Regions from separate parts of the Homo sapiens genome. Here regions 1, 2, 4 and 5 are each linked to region 3. The links are contacts of gene promoters, found by promoter capture Hi-C in blood cells and fetal thymus (Javierre and others, 2016). All regions are on one chromosome and are shown on one strand. Each heading gives the region's core, a stretch centred on a gene start or on the middle of the fragment in contact. The rest is flanking DNA. Distances are from core to core; before and after follow the strand shown. Region 1 overlaps SH3PXD2A (SH3 and PX domains 2A). Region 2 overlaps GSTO1 (glutathione S-transferase omega 1). Region 3 holds the start of SLK (STE20 like kinase). Region 4 overlaps SH3PXD2A (SH3 and PX domains 2A). Region 5 overlaps CFAP43 (cilia and flagella associated protein 43).

Region 1 (2,700 bases), core at 4-2,503, 270 kb after region 3:
TAGCCCCCTGTGAACCCAGGCTATTGGGCTACGGGTCCTTTCCATGGGCCAGATGCCATTTAAGAGCTTTGCACATTATCCCATGTAATCCCCACGACAGCTCTGTAAGATAGCAACTATTTTAACCCCCTTTTACAACCGAAGGTACAGAGAGGTGAAGTCACTTGTTTATATCACAAAGCACTAGGTGGCTGAACCAGGGTTCTAACCCACCTGCCCTTTTAACTCCCTGCTCTGAGGCCTGGACATGGTAAAACTTGTCCTGTGGCTGAAGACACACTTAGGGCCTTTGCCCAGAATAGTGGAACAAGTCAGAGGAGACAGACAGACAGTGCTTTGTTCTTTTGCTGTGGACAGGGCAGCAGCAGAGACCCTCTGGGATGTTCAGGAGACAAAATGCCTGGGGGGCGGGGTTCTGGGGTCTATGATGGCCATAGCATCTGGCCTCTCTGGGATGCAGCCTGGGGAGCCCCAAGACCCCTTCTCTCCGCAGGAATTCAGCTTTTTCACCCAGGGCAGGAATTCCGGCCCCTCTGGACAAGCCACATGGTCACAATGGGGTCCATTCTCAGAACCCTGGAAAACACAGGCCCTGCGGAGAAAGGACAGATTCTTGTTAAACACAAGGGCCCTCAGTGCCACGATTTAGATCAGGGAGCAAATGGGGGCAGAGAATGGCCTGCAGGCCCCTCTGTCTGTCTTGCCTGGAGGTTGCTGCCTCTGGAGGCCATTCCGTGCAAAGGCTCTCAAAAGCCAGAACAAAAACCCAGCTAGGGGCTAAGGGGTGGAAAAAAAACCCCAACTCTCCAGACCTCAGTGACCCAAAGCCCCTTCGCCCAGCCCTTTGCTCAGACCTTCCTCACTTGGTTTCTGGAAGAACATGCTCCATCTCACTATGGAGGTTTCACAGATAATTCGAATTCTCACAATAGCCCTGTGAGGACACTCAGAGTAGCCTCCTGTTAGGACTGGGGAATCCGAGGGCTCCTGCCACAGTGGGAAATATCACACTGCAGCTCGATACGCAGACAGACATCTGATGCAGGTGCCACAAAACAGCCTTGCCAGGGGTGACTCGCTGATCATTTCTAGTCTGTTCTTCTTAAAATGCTCATTGGGACCATTAAATTGATTCTGAAACTCACTAATGGGTCACTGCCTGTCATTTGAAAAGCACTAGTTTGAAGTGGCTTGTCCAGGGTCACCAGCCCCTGAGGGGGCAGAGCTGGGCCCAGAACCCGGGTCTGTGGACATTCAGCACTGGACTTTGACAGCCCCTCTCCTGCCCCCAACCCCCAGCTGTCAACCTCTCCTCTTAACAAAATTTTCCTCCAGCCAGGATCTGACCAAATCACTCCCCAATTCTGCAAACTTCTGGATTTCACAGCCAGACATCAAAGCCCTGCTCAGCCTTGCCTTTCCTGGCCCGTCCACCCACTACCCTCACTGCCCAGTCCACAACTGTTTGGAGCTGCTTGCTCCTGCTTGTAGAGCTTTCCCCCTGCATCCCTCTATGGATCCAAACCCCCTTGTCCTTTAAGGCCTCCTCCTCCAGGAAGCTACCTGGGATGTTCTGTAGCCCCCAGGACCTCTCTTTTCTCTGCACTGAGTGTAACCCCTCCTGTAATTCTCAGCGTGGATTGTCTGAGAATGTTGGCTTTCTCGTTGGACTTATGTCACATATATCTCTTCTGCCTGCCTGCACAGGCCTTAATGAGGTTGCCTACAGCGAGAGCTTAAAAAGTGCTTTTAGGTTGATAACAGCAGTCAAAATCATTATGTACCTCAAGAGCCCCACGTCACTCCCCTGGCCAAGGTTGCATCTTCTCCAGCCCTCATATTCTAGATAGTGCCCATGTCCCCAGTGACTGCTGGGCTCTGAAGGTCACCCCCAAGTCAGCTGTCTGGCAGCCCAGCCGGCCTCTTGAGCAGTTCCCAGTGGCTGTAGGCCCCGCAGACAGGCATCCTGGGCCCAGCAGCCAATGTCAGCTGGCAGACAGAAGGGTGAGAACATCAGGCTGGAAGTTTGTGTGTGTGTCCTTCTCTGCCAAGGCACTTGCCAGTGGGAGGGAGAGTGGTGAGGGGTGTGGCGGGCAGTGGAGGGTACAACCCTGCAGCATTCAGCAGAACTCCACCTGGCAGGTACTCAGCACCCTTCCACAGAGCCGGCCCAGCCAGGCCCAGCCCCCTTTCCTCTCTCTCCCGTGCCTCAGTGGCTCTTCCTGGCTTCACCTCTCACTCTGGGAACTCTGAACGGCAGGATGGCAATCTCCATTCCCCAGCGAGGGCCTGCTGCCCGCTGCTGGTGTGACCTCTCCTTGTGGCCAAATCCCTAGTGGGCCTCAGCGTGGCCCCTTTGGAGCATTGTGGGTCAGGGCTGTCTGTTTAGCTTCAGGAGCCTGGGCCAGCCACTGAAGCCTCAGACCTCAATCTCCTCATCCATGAAATGGGTGAGCACCTGCTCTGCCTACTTCAGAACACCAAAGAATAAATCCTGGGAGTTTTCAAGGGGAAGGCAGAGTGTGGGGAGCCATGTGTCAAAACAGGGGAACAACACATGTGAATTGTTCAGTGCCTTTCCTGCCCCCACCAGCCTCTCCCTGTGCAGTCTCCAACACCAGCCATTTCACTAGAGCATCCGGGGAGGGAGCACAGCGTGTCTGGCCAAGATAAAATGAAAGGAAAAAAGAAAAACCCTTT
Region 2 (2,700 bases), core at 134-2,633, 290 kb before region 3:
TCCCGCCAACAGTGTGCAAAGGTTCTGATTTCTACACATCCTTGCTAACACTTGTCTTTTTTCATTATAGTCATCTTGACAAGTGTGAGGTTATTATGTGATTTTGATTTGCATTTTCCTGATGATTAGTGATAAGAACTTTTTCATATATGTGTTGCCCATTTTTATATCCTCTTTGAAGAAATGTCTATTTTTTTAATTTTTAATTTTTTTTGACACTCTGTCTCCCAGACTGGAGTACAGTGGCTTGATCGCAGCTCACTGCAGCCTCGACCTCCTGGGCTAAAGCGATCCTCCTACCTCCCGAGTAGTTGGGACCACAGGCGTGCACCATCACACCCAGCTAATTTCTTTGTAGAGACAGGATTCTGCCATGTTGCCAAGGCTGGTCTTGAACTCCTGGGCTCAAGTGAACTGTCTGCCTCGGGGTTATAGGCGTGAGCTACCATGCCCAGCCTGAGAAGTGTCTATGTAAGATCTTAGCCCATGTTAAAATCAGGTTTTTTTGTTGTTGAGTTGTAGAGATTCCTTATGTATTTTGGAGATTAACCCCTTACCAGGTATGTGGTTTGCAAGTACTTTCTCCTATTCCATAGGTTGCCTTTTTGCTCTGTTAATCGTTTCCTTTGCTGTGTGGAAGCTTGTTTGCTGTAGTCTCATGTGTTTATTTTTGGTCTTGTTGCCTGGTCTTTGGTGTCATGTCCAGGAAATCATTGCCAAGGCCAGTGTCATGAAGCTTTTCCCCTATGTTTTCTTTTACACGTTGGCGGTTTTTATATTCCTTGAATTTGCCAAATGTGTTTCCACCTTAGAGTCTTTGCACTTGATGGTCCTCTGCCTCCTCTGCCTGCCTTTTCCCAGGTCTTCCCAGGTCAAACACACATCCCCAGGCCCTCCCTGACCATAGCTCTGAAGTTGCTGAGCAGCTTCTATTACATGATTATCATGTTTTACTTTCTTCATTGAACTGATAATATGTATCTGAAATTACTTTGCTCACTTATTTACAAGTTTGTTATCTTCCTAGAATGTAAGCTTCACGAAAGGTGGGATCTTGTGTATCTGTTCATAGTAATAAACAAACATGTAAATGAGCAAAATGCTATATAGATATAAATGCTCTGAAGAAAATAAAAAGTTTCAAATAAGGACTCAGTAAATATTTTTGTTTTGAAATATTTCATATAAATGAATGAATAAATCTGTGGAAATGCTTCAAAATTGTCAATAAGATACTCCATTTATGGCTAAGAGGTATCTTAGTTATAAATCATATGAGGCAACTAATTGAATTGTGTCCACTATCCACTATATGAGAACCAACATAAAATTCAATTTATTTTGCTAATTTGAGTAAAAAGTTTCTTGGTTTTTATGAAGATATTAAGGAATCCTTAAAATCCACCCACAAGGCCAGGCTTGGTAGCTTACATCTGTAATCCCAGAACCTTGGGAGACTGCAGTGGGCGGATTGCTTAAACCCAGGAGTTCAAGACCAGCCTGGGCAACATGATGAAACCCTATCTCTACAAAAAATATAAAAATTAGCCAAGTGTGGTGGTACTCACCTGTAGTCTCGGCTACTCCGGATGCTGAGGTGAGAAGATTGCTTGAGCCCTGGAGGCAGAGGTTGCAGTGAGCCATGATTGCACCACTGCATTCCAGCCTGGGTGACAGGGCGAGACCCTGTCTCGAAAAAAAAAAAAAAATCCACCCACAAAATAAGCTTTCAGATTAAATCTCCATGTACTGATTTTTTAAAAAATGTTGTCTGAGTAAATCATACAAAGTAAACCAAAAAGGAAGAAAACAGGTGAAGTCCAGGCTATAGTCAGATTGTATTTAGGTCTATCTTGTATGTTGCCTGAGACTGTAGAGGAACTAAGAGAAAGGAGCTAGGTCCATATGATTGTCAAGGCTGAATAAATGTTCAATAGAACAGATTACTAAAAAAAAAATAGACACCAATACCTTTTGTTTTCTATTTTCCCATCCACAGCTGTAGCTAGAACAGCATTTCATTTGAGGATTTAAATACATAATCCCCCATGTAAACAAAGGAACATCCAATTTGAACATGAGCACAGGTGTGCATGTAATTTAAAAGGTTCATGTGCTGACAATACTGGACACTTAAGTACCAGCCATTGCAAAAAAAAAAAAAATTATTTGGCTCCTTGCCAAAGAATTATCAACATTTTTGAACTATAAAACAAAAACTTTTGTTACTATGAAAACAAAAAGATCCTGGGCTTTTGTTATTTAAAAAAAAAAAAGTATGTCAGAACACACATGAATTTTGGTAAGCTGGCATTGTGAGCCAACAAGTCTACACACCTGCCACAGCAAGTTGGAAGATGCATCTTTTAGAGAAAACCATGCTTTGTTAAGTCATATCATGTGGTTAAAATCTAGTACTTTCCCAGTAAAAGCCTCCTCGGGCTCAAGCTTAAAACTGGTCTATTAATGTAGTAGACCTTTGTTGTTTGCACTGTCTGGAAGCTGTTAACCACTCTCTTCCTCCCCTCTACCCCACACTATTAGGGGAAGATAGTTTCAATGTTCCTTTGGAAAACTGCCCCAGTAAATAAGGTAGGGTTGTTTTCAAACTAAAGGTCCAGGGTGAAGCACATAACCCAGGACTTTGTGCCTCTGAATCCAGCTGTGTCATGCTCCTGGACTTTTCAAATAAATGAGTAC
Region 3 (2,700 bases), core at 187-2,686:
TGAAACGCCAAGCCTCTTTCTATTGAAATAAATACATGCGTGTGTGTTTTTAACTGCTTAAGCGCTGATACTGACTTCTAGTCAATGCTTACCATAAATATATTTAAAACTAGTACCACATGAAGGTTTTTTGGAAATTTTGTCAGAAATTCCATTCTATTTTATAGTATGCTGTCAAGCAACTAACTCAAGAAGAGACTGCAAGTAGCAATCACTTTGATCCCAACTAGTTCTGTATTAGCTCTAGATACAACCAAATATATATACTGGACCCTAAAAACAGAACTGTTGGAGTACAAGCATGCACGCGAATGCAGTCAGTAGACAAATCCACTGCAAAGTGCAATGAGTTTCTCATTCTAAAATACTTGAAGGGCACAACCAGACCCCTCCTATAAATTAAAGAACACTCTCATTTCCTTTGAAGTTTGAAAGAGTAGACTTTATAACCCTGTCTCCTTTTCCAATCGCTCTTTAAACTCCATCCAGGCCCCATTTTGTTCCACCGTAAACCCGACTTCTTAGCTACTCCTTGGATGATCAGCCAAGTAAAGTTGCATCGAACCGTAACAGTCAAAAGAAGGACAGGATAAGGACCAGGGGAGCAGAAGTCCTCCCGCCACTCCAGGCCAGTGGCTGTTTTACCTTCGCAGTACAACTTCCCGTTTTCCCCCTCTTACCTTGTACACTTTCCCAAAGGCTCCGTCGCCCAGTTCTCCTATAATCTCCCAAAAGTCTTCGGGGTTCAGGTCCCTCTTCACGTGTTCGTACTGCTTCTTCTTCTTCTCGCTCCCCAACTTGAAGATCTTACGGAAATTGAAGAAGGACATTTTTCCTCCCAACACAGAGTTCCTTGCACTTAAGGACTAAAAACAATAAAAGGCAAAGTTTCTCTTCCCTGCTCTCCCGCGCGAGCCCGGCTGGCGGCGGCGGGCGCGGCGTCCCTCGGCCCCCGCAGCTCCGGCCGGGCGGTCCCGGGAGAAGGCGGGGCGGCGACCCGGGCTCCGGCCCGCGGTGGGGGTGCTGCGCGAGCGGCCCCTCCGCCGAGCCCGGCCCGCGAGCCGCGCGGTGGGCGCCTCGCCTCCGGCCCACCCTCCGGGAGCGGCACCTGCCCGCAAGCTCGCTCCCACCCGGCCTGATCCGACGGGTCCGAGCGGTCAGGACTCCCGCGGCGGCGGCTTAGGCCCGTGTCACGGCGAGTCTCCAGGGGCGGCGGCCACTCTGGGAGAGAGAAGCGGCCGGCGGCCTCGGAGGCGGGCAGTCGAGAAGCCGAGCCCTCCCGCCTCGGGCCGCGAGCCTAGGGTCTCCTCCGCCGCCGTCCGCTCCCGCGGCGCAAGGCCCGCGCGTCCCCTCGGGTCTGGGGCGCCGCCGCCGCCGCCTGTCTCCCTCCCCAGCCCACACAGCCTCGGCCTGGAGCGCGCGCCGACGCCGACTCCGTAGCGCGCCCGCGCGCTTTCCCGGCTGCGCGCCCGCCCGGTCACGCGCCCTGCTCACCGCGCGCTCGCGTGGGGGCGTCCCCTCTGGCCCCGCGCACGCGCGCTACGTCCCTCAGACTGGCTGCCCCCGAGGGTTCGCGTGAGCGGAGCACGGGGCTCGGGGTGCGGGGGGCTGGTGTGATGGACGCATTTGTTCTTCGGTCCCTGACGATTGTTTCTCATTTGCCCTCCAAGCCCCAAATCCTGTCAGTCCACGGCCTTGATGGAGCGGCCCCCGTGGGACGACCCTGTTGATTGTGCTAGCGGATGTTGTCTCCATTCTGGATCTGGGAAAAACTGTGGAGTGAAAGCCGGACCTGTTAGGGTTGGGACCTGAAAGCGGACTTTTTCGCTCTCAGACGGGCCCCAGGTACAGTGAGAGGGGAGTTTGTGTGGTGGTTGTGAGCTTGAGCTTTGGAGAGAGAGATCTGTGACCTTGGGCAGGTGACCTCTCCGAGCCTCGGTTTCCTCGCCGTAAAATGAAGATCCTAATAGTCCCTACCAGAAGGTTGTGAATGAGACAATAGATGGAAGCCCTTTGCGCGGCCCCTGCACCCGTAAACGCTCAATCTTAGTTCTTACTCTTGTTGTTTTAAGTGTGCAGGCAAGATAGACACAGATACATAAAAACTGTTTAAGACCACTTCTCTTTTTTTTCTTTCTTTCTTTTTTTTTTTTTTTTTTTTTTTTTGAGACGGAGTCTCGATCTGTCGCCCAGGCTGGAGTGCAGTGGCGCGAACTAGGCTCACCGCAAGCTCCGCCTCCCGGCTTCACGCTATTCTCCTGCCTCAGCCTCCCGAGTAGCTGGGACTACAGGCGCCCGCCACCACGCCCCGCTAATTTTTTTGTATTTTTAGTAGAGACGGGGTTTCACCGTGTTAGCCAGGATGGTCTCGATCTCCTGACCTCGTGATCCGCCCGCCTCGGCCTCCCAAAGTACTGGCGTGAGCCACCGCGCCGGGCCCCCACTTCTCAACTGATGACTGCGACACTCCCTTGAGGGTAAAACTAACTTCTGGCCACCTCCACAACTGTAAACCTGGTGTCACTCTTGGTGACTCCACCTCAGCTAAGGCCCCCACTTCCTGATCTGCCTCCAGCCCCCTTGGGCAGCACTCCCTGGTGGGGCAGTGTGGACGTTGGCTGGAATCCGTCAGGTGGTGACCTACCTTCCCCTCCTCCACCAGACGGGAGCTCTTTCAGGCCAGTGGTTTGTTGTTCATCA
Region 4 (2,700 bases), core at 10-2,509, 290 kb after region 3:
CCTCCGCCTCCTGAATAGCTGGGATTACAGATGCATGCCACCATGCCTGGCTAATTTTTTGTATTTTTAGTAGAGATGGGATTTCACCATGTTGGCCAAGCTGGTCTTGAACTCCTGACCTTGTGATCCACCCTCTTCGGCCTCTCAAAGTGCTGCGATTACAGGCATGAGCCACCGCAGCCAGCCTCTGGGCTGGTGTTTTTAAACAGTTTTTATTTGCATGGCTCTGGGTCCTCAGCCTGATTTTACCCTTGGAGTTCAAAGCCATCTAATTGGAAATGAAAGGAGCCTGATTGATTTGGCAACTCTGCGGCCAGCCCACGTGGCGGTGATGCGATGGAGAAAGTGAGTGCTGCTCACGTGTGTGTCTGCGCCACGCTCCCTGGCTCGAGGTGGCTGAGCCCCACTGCCCAATTGGCCTGGACACACAGAGCAAGGCGGAGCGGGGAGGGGGCAGGGGCGTGGCAAGCGCTCCCCGGATCCTGGAATCCCCAGAAGGAGGCAGCTAGTTGGAAGCCTCAATTCCCTCAGCCCTGCTTGCACAGCTGCCTCTGCCCCCTCACTCCTATCACCCAGTTTCTCCTGCTAGGAAAATAGGAAGTTGGTCCAAAAGGGAACTGCATGGGCAAAAGTGAACTGCAGAATCTTGAGTCTGCTCATTGAAATACAGATTCCCAGGGCCTGCCCAGACCTACTGAATCAGCGTGTCTGGAGTGACGCCCAGGTATCTGCATTTTTTCATTTTCTTAAGAGACAGGGTTTCACCATATTGCCCAGGCTGGTCTCAAACTCCCAAGCTCCTCAAGCAGTCCACCCACCTCGGCCTCCCAAAGTGCTGGATTATAGATATGAGCCACCGCATCTGGCCGATCTGCATTTTGTGTGTGTGCGCGCGCGCGCGCGGGCGCGTGTGTGTGTGTGATGGAGTCTCACTCTGTCACCCAGGCTGGAGTGTGGTAGTGCGATCTTGGCTCACTGCAACCTCTGCCTCTTGGGTTCAAGTGATTCTCCCGCCTCAGCCTCCTGAGTAGCTGGGACTACAGGTACCCTCCACAACACCTGGCTAATTTTTGTATTTTTAGTAGAGACAGGGTTACACCATGTTGGCCAGGCAGATCCTCCTGCCTTGGCCCCCCAGAGTGCTGGGATTATAGGCGTGAGCCACTGCACCCAGCCAATCTGCATTTTTGACAGGCTTCCCAGGGCTTCTGAAATCAAGCTAGGGTTGCGTCTTTGATGGGTCATCCATGTGGGTTGATGGCCATGTTCAGGGTAGACAGGCAGCAAGATGGCAGGGGGATTGGCATCCCCAAGATGAATGGTGCCTGGATGATGCCTGGATGGGACTGCTCCTTGAAGAACATTCAGTTGTCTCCTGAGATGGGAGGGTGGGCTACGGGGGCAGGAATGGAGGACAGGACTCCCAAGTCTCTTACCCCTGAAACACAGCCCAGCATTTGGAGTCTTGGAGAATGGCTATCTGAGGGGCCTACCCAGCCCTGACCTGATGAGAGACACCATCTGCCTTTCATTTCCAGAAGGTTTTGTTGCTGGGGGAGGAAATACCCAAATTGTGGTCCAGCAAAGAAATGTTTCCCACCGTGGCCCACGGCCAGAAAGTCACTGGTTCCTCACTTCAGCGTTTGGTTTATAGACACGTGACAGAAGAGGCAACCTTTCCAGTGATGACAAAGCCGGCGGAAAAACAAAGACATGGGGGAAATGTGCATTACTTATTGTTTTAGCACCTTTTTCTAATCTAAAGTTACTTTTAGAAACAGAAAAGTGGTGTGTGTAACTTAGTCGGCACGTGGCATTTTTAGAATTGGTCTGTTTCGAAGTGTGAAAGAAAAAAATATTTTTTTCCTGAGTTTCCATAAAACTTAGAAGTTTACAGGAAAATCATGCTTTTCCCTGACTCTCTTCTTTCTGCCTTGCCCCCTGGATTTCATCATTGCCATGTGTGGCCCAAGCAGCCAGCTTGAAAATGTATTTTGTTATTTATTGTTAGAATAAAGTCTTGCACCAAGACAACTGGGTCATGTTAGAAAGTCCCTTTGCTTCCTTGTGCTCAGAAACAGAGTTTGCTGGGTGTGGTGGTTCACGCCTGTAATCCCAGCACTTTGGGAACCTGAGGTGGGAGGATCACTTGAGCCCAGGAGCTTGAGACCAGCCTGGGCAACCTAGTGAGACCCCTTCTCTACAAAAATAAAAAATTAGTCCAGTGTGGTGGCACACACCTGTGGTTTCAGCTACTCGGGAGGGCAAAGAAGGATTGTTGAGCCCAGGAGGTTAAAGCTGCAGTGAATGGTGATCGCACCACTGCACTCCAGCCTGGGCAATAGAGCAAGACCCTATCTCAAAATAAAACATAAAGAAGGCAGGCCGGGTGTGGTAGCTCACGCCTGTAATCCCAGCACTTTGGGAGGCCGAGTTGGGCGGATTACTTGAGGTCAGGAGTTTGAGACCAGCCTGGCCAACATGGTGAAACCCTGTCTCTACAAAAATACAAAAATTAGCTTGGTGTCGTGGTGGGCGCCTGTAATCCCAGTTACTCAGGAGGCTGAGGCAGGAGAATCACTTGAACCGGGGAGGCAGAGGTTGCAGTGAGCAGAGATGGCGCCATTGCACTCCAGCCTGGGTGACAGAGCGAGACTCTATCTCAAAAAATAAATAAATAAATAAAATAAAAGAGAAGGC
Region 5 (2,700 bases), core at 169-2,668, 260 kb before region 3:
AGCTGGGATTACAGGTGTGCGCCACCATGCTCGGCTTTTTTTTTTTTTTTTTTATGTTTTTGGCAGAGGATGGGGTTTTACCATGTTGGCCAGGCTGGTCTCGAACTCCTGGCCTCAAGTGATCCACCCACCTCCGCCTCCCAAAGTGCTGGGATTACAGGCGTGAGCCACTGTGCCCGGCCTAATGACTCTTTCTTAGATACAGCTGACCCACACTGAGCTGCTGCACGTCTGCTGGAGCCACCAGCTAATGATTCCTTCATTTAACACCCCATGGGCAGAAAGCTCATGCTTGAGGCTGGACTTAGCTCTGTAGTCTTAAGGGTCAAATAAGTGTTTGGATGAAGTCAGGGAACTTCACTATAATTTATAATACTTTGTTTGTGGTGAAATTTGCATTCTCAACAGTTTAAGACAATTTTCAAAACATAACCCATTCACATGTTGGGGACTATCTAGGTGGACTATACCCTTTATCTTTAAAATTTCCCCAGGTTGGTTATTTGGCTGTAGTTCTGTTTGAACCAATTGAAAGTTAGTTCAAACCAATACCCAGGAGTCTTACTGAATAATGATGCCCTAAAGGAATTCCCAGTAATACTAATCAGTAATATTAATCAGAGAGACCTGTTATCACTATTATTTAATATCAACCTGGAAGTTCTAGCCAATGCAACAAAATATAAAACTGAAAAAAATATAGCTATGGGAAAGGGGATGATGGATAATGCGATAGTCTGCTAGGACTAACAAAAGAATGCTCAGTAAGATGCTGGTTTTGAAATAAGTACCCATACAATTAGAACATATACATACTTAGAAATAATTCAAAAAAAAGTGTGAGTGACCTAGGGGAAGAAAACTACAAAAATCATTGATTTAAAATATTTAAATATATAGAAATATATTCCTGGATGGAAAGCCTGGTTATTATAAATATATTTCTGAGATTTGTCATAGAAAGTAATTTGTAGGTTTATCCTATGTTTTAGACAGCAAGGAGTACTCAAATGATTCCAAAATTCATCTGGGAAAATAAAACATAGAGAATGAGAATAATTTGAAAGAGAATGATGGCAAGGCAGAGGGTCATTTTAATATTATGGTGCCATAGTAATTAGAAGTATGGCACTGGTGCAGGGATCACCAAATCAGTGGGAGAGTTGAAGACTTGGGACAGAATCTAAAGTATATAAAAGCTGAGTAAATGAAGAAAGAGGCTACCACCAAAAAGAAGGAGGAAGAGAAGGAGGAGGAGGAAGAAAGAAGAAAAAATATAGATTATTCAACAGTGGTTAAGAAAACTGCATATTTTAACAAAAGTATCAAGTTAGATACTCATGGTCTATATCAGATGAAAAAAAGCATTAAATATAAATAACAAATCCACTTGAAAATAGTAGAAAATATGGGCCGGGCACAGTGGCTCACGCCTGTAATCCCAGCACTTTGGGAGGCCAAGGCAGGTGGATCACGAGGTCAGGAGATCAAGACCATCCTGGCCAACATGGGGAAACCCCATCTTTACTAAAAATACAAAAGTTAGTTGGGCATGGTGGCGCATGCCTGTAATCCCAGCTACTCAGGAGGCTGATGCAGAATCGCTTGAACCCGGGAGGCGGAGGTTGCAGCGAGCCGAGATCACGCCACTGCACTCCAGCCTGGCAACATAGCAAGACTCTGTCTCAAAAAAAAAAAAAAAAAAAAAAAAAAAAAAGTAGAAAACATGGTAGAATAGAGGAGTGATTCCAGGAAGGGGAAGAACTTTTCACACAAAACAAAAACTTAGAAAAGACAGACATATTTGATTGTATATCTGTTTTAAACTGATTAACATCAAAAACACCATGAAAAATTAAAAGGGAAATAATAAACCAGGTAAAATATTTGGAACAAATATGATCAAATATTTTCAGAGCATTAATGAAACAAGAACAAAACAAACAGCCTCTTAGAACAATGGAAAAGAAATTAACCCAGACAAATCACTAAACTCCAAATAACCAAAGACATCAAAAAATGTTTCATCTCAAGATTTGTTTTAAAAAGTGTGATTTAAACCAAGATGCTATTTTTCTGCCTATCAAGGTCACAACTTTTTTATGATCATAATTGCTAGGTAGAATGCAGTGAAATTGGTAGCACTCTTATTTGCTGAAGGTGGGACTATAAATTGATAGAGTCTTTCTGTGAAATAAATATTGACTCTATTTGACCCAGTATACTCACTTCAAGACGAATTCAATTTTTAGGAAATGGTTAGAAATATGGTCAAAGATTTACATGCAAATGAGCTTAAAAAGCACTATGATAATAGCACAAGGTTGGAGCAACCTACATCTCCAGTATTATGGATATAGTTAAATAAAATATACTATAAAGGGGTATTATGCAAACATTAAAAATCACACTTTTAAAGAAGTGTTAAGATAATGATAAAATGGTCAATATAACGTAAATAAAAAACCAATAGGAGGCAACACTATGATCCAATTCCATTTAAAAATGGATTATCATATATTATATATATATGATGAGACAGAGTCTTGCTCTGTCCCCCAGGCTGGAGTGCAGTGGCGCAGTCTTGGCTCACTGCAACTTCCGCCTCCCAGGTTCAAGCGATTCGCCTGCCTCAGCCTCCCAAGTAGCTGGGATTACAGGTGCTTGCCACCACACCCGGCTAATTTTTGATTTTTAGTA

Evidence for each region. Contacts are between HindIII fragments. The CHiCAGO score rates a contact against its expected background, and 5 or more counts as called.
Region 1: a contact is called between a fragment that was not itself captured here and the fragment with the promoter of SLK in region 3, in 6 of 17 cell types (naive CD8 T cells, non-activated CD4 T cells, M0 macrophages and 3 more). The highest score is 7.0, in naive CD8 T cells.
Region 2: a contact is called between a fragment that was not itself captured here and the fragment with the promoter of SLK in region 3, in 7 of 17 cell types (megakaryocytes, activated CD4 T cells, erythroblasts and 4 more). The highest score is 9.5, in megakaryocytes.
Region 4: a contact is called between a fragment that was not itself captured here and the fragment with the promoter of SLK in region 3, in 2 of 17 cell types (total B cells and total CD8 T cells). The highest score is 5.1, in total B cells.
Region 5: a contact is called between a fragment that was not itself captured here and the fragment with the promoter of SLK in region 3, in 11 of 17 cell types (naive B cells, naive CD8 T cells, total CD8 T cells and 8 more). The highest score is 8.3, in naive B cells.

The regions. Positions count from the first base shown.
Region 1 is chr10:103,697,707-103,700,406 of GRCh38, reverse strand. The region is part of intron 5 of SH3PXD2A (SH3 and PX domains 2A); the gene reads left to right. Among named protein-coding and RNA genes, the nearest start is that of SH3PXD2A-AS1, 48 kb to the left of the region's middle. The HindIII fragment of the contact is 6,444 bases long and covers 1-2,700 here.
Region 2 is chr10:104,256,352-104,259,051 of GRCh38, reverse strand. All of the region lies in intron 2 of GSTO1 (glutathione S-transferase omega 1), which reads right to left. The region is part of intron 1 of LOC124902497 (a long non-coding RNA gene); the gene reads left to right. Among named protein-coding and RNA genes, the nearest start is that of GSTO1, 2.8 kb to the right of the region's middle. The HindIII fragment of the contact is 691 bases long and covers 1,038-1,728 here.
Region 3 is chr10:103,965,876-103,968,575 of GRCh38, reverse strand. It overlaps SLK (STE20 like kinase), which reads right to left and starts at 1,436. Exons shown (of 19, transcript NM_014720.4): 1 at 681-1,436. The coding sequence starts at 830. It overlaps LOC102724351 (a long non-coding RNA gene), which reads left to right and starts at 1,531. Exons shown (of 5, transcript XR_007062282.1): 1 at 1,531-2,700. RefSeq lists silencers at 915-1,014, 1,025-1,074, 1,115-1,574. The HindIII fragment of the contact is 5,644 bases long and covers 1-2,700 here.
Region 4 is chr10:103,679,962-103,682,661 of GRCh38, reverse strand. All of the region lies in intron 6 of SH3PXD2A (SH3 and PX domains 2A), which reads left to right. Among named protein-coding and RNA genes, the nearest start is that of SH3PXD2A-AS1, 65 kb to the left of the region's middle. RefSeq lists an enhancer at 1-681. The HindIII fragment of the contact is 5,817 bases long and covers 1-2,700 here.
Region 5 is chr10:104,226,853-104,229,552 of GRCh38, reverse strand. The region is part of intron 2 of CFAP43 (cilia and flagella associated protein 43); the gene reads left to right. Among named protein-coding and RNA genes, the nearest start is that of CFAP43, 4.2 kb to the left of the region's middle. The HindIII fragment of the contact is 3,831 bases long and covers 1-2,700 here.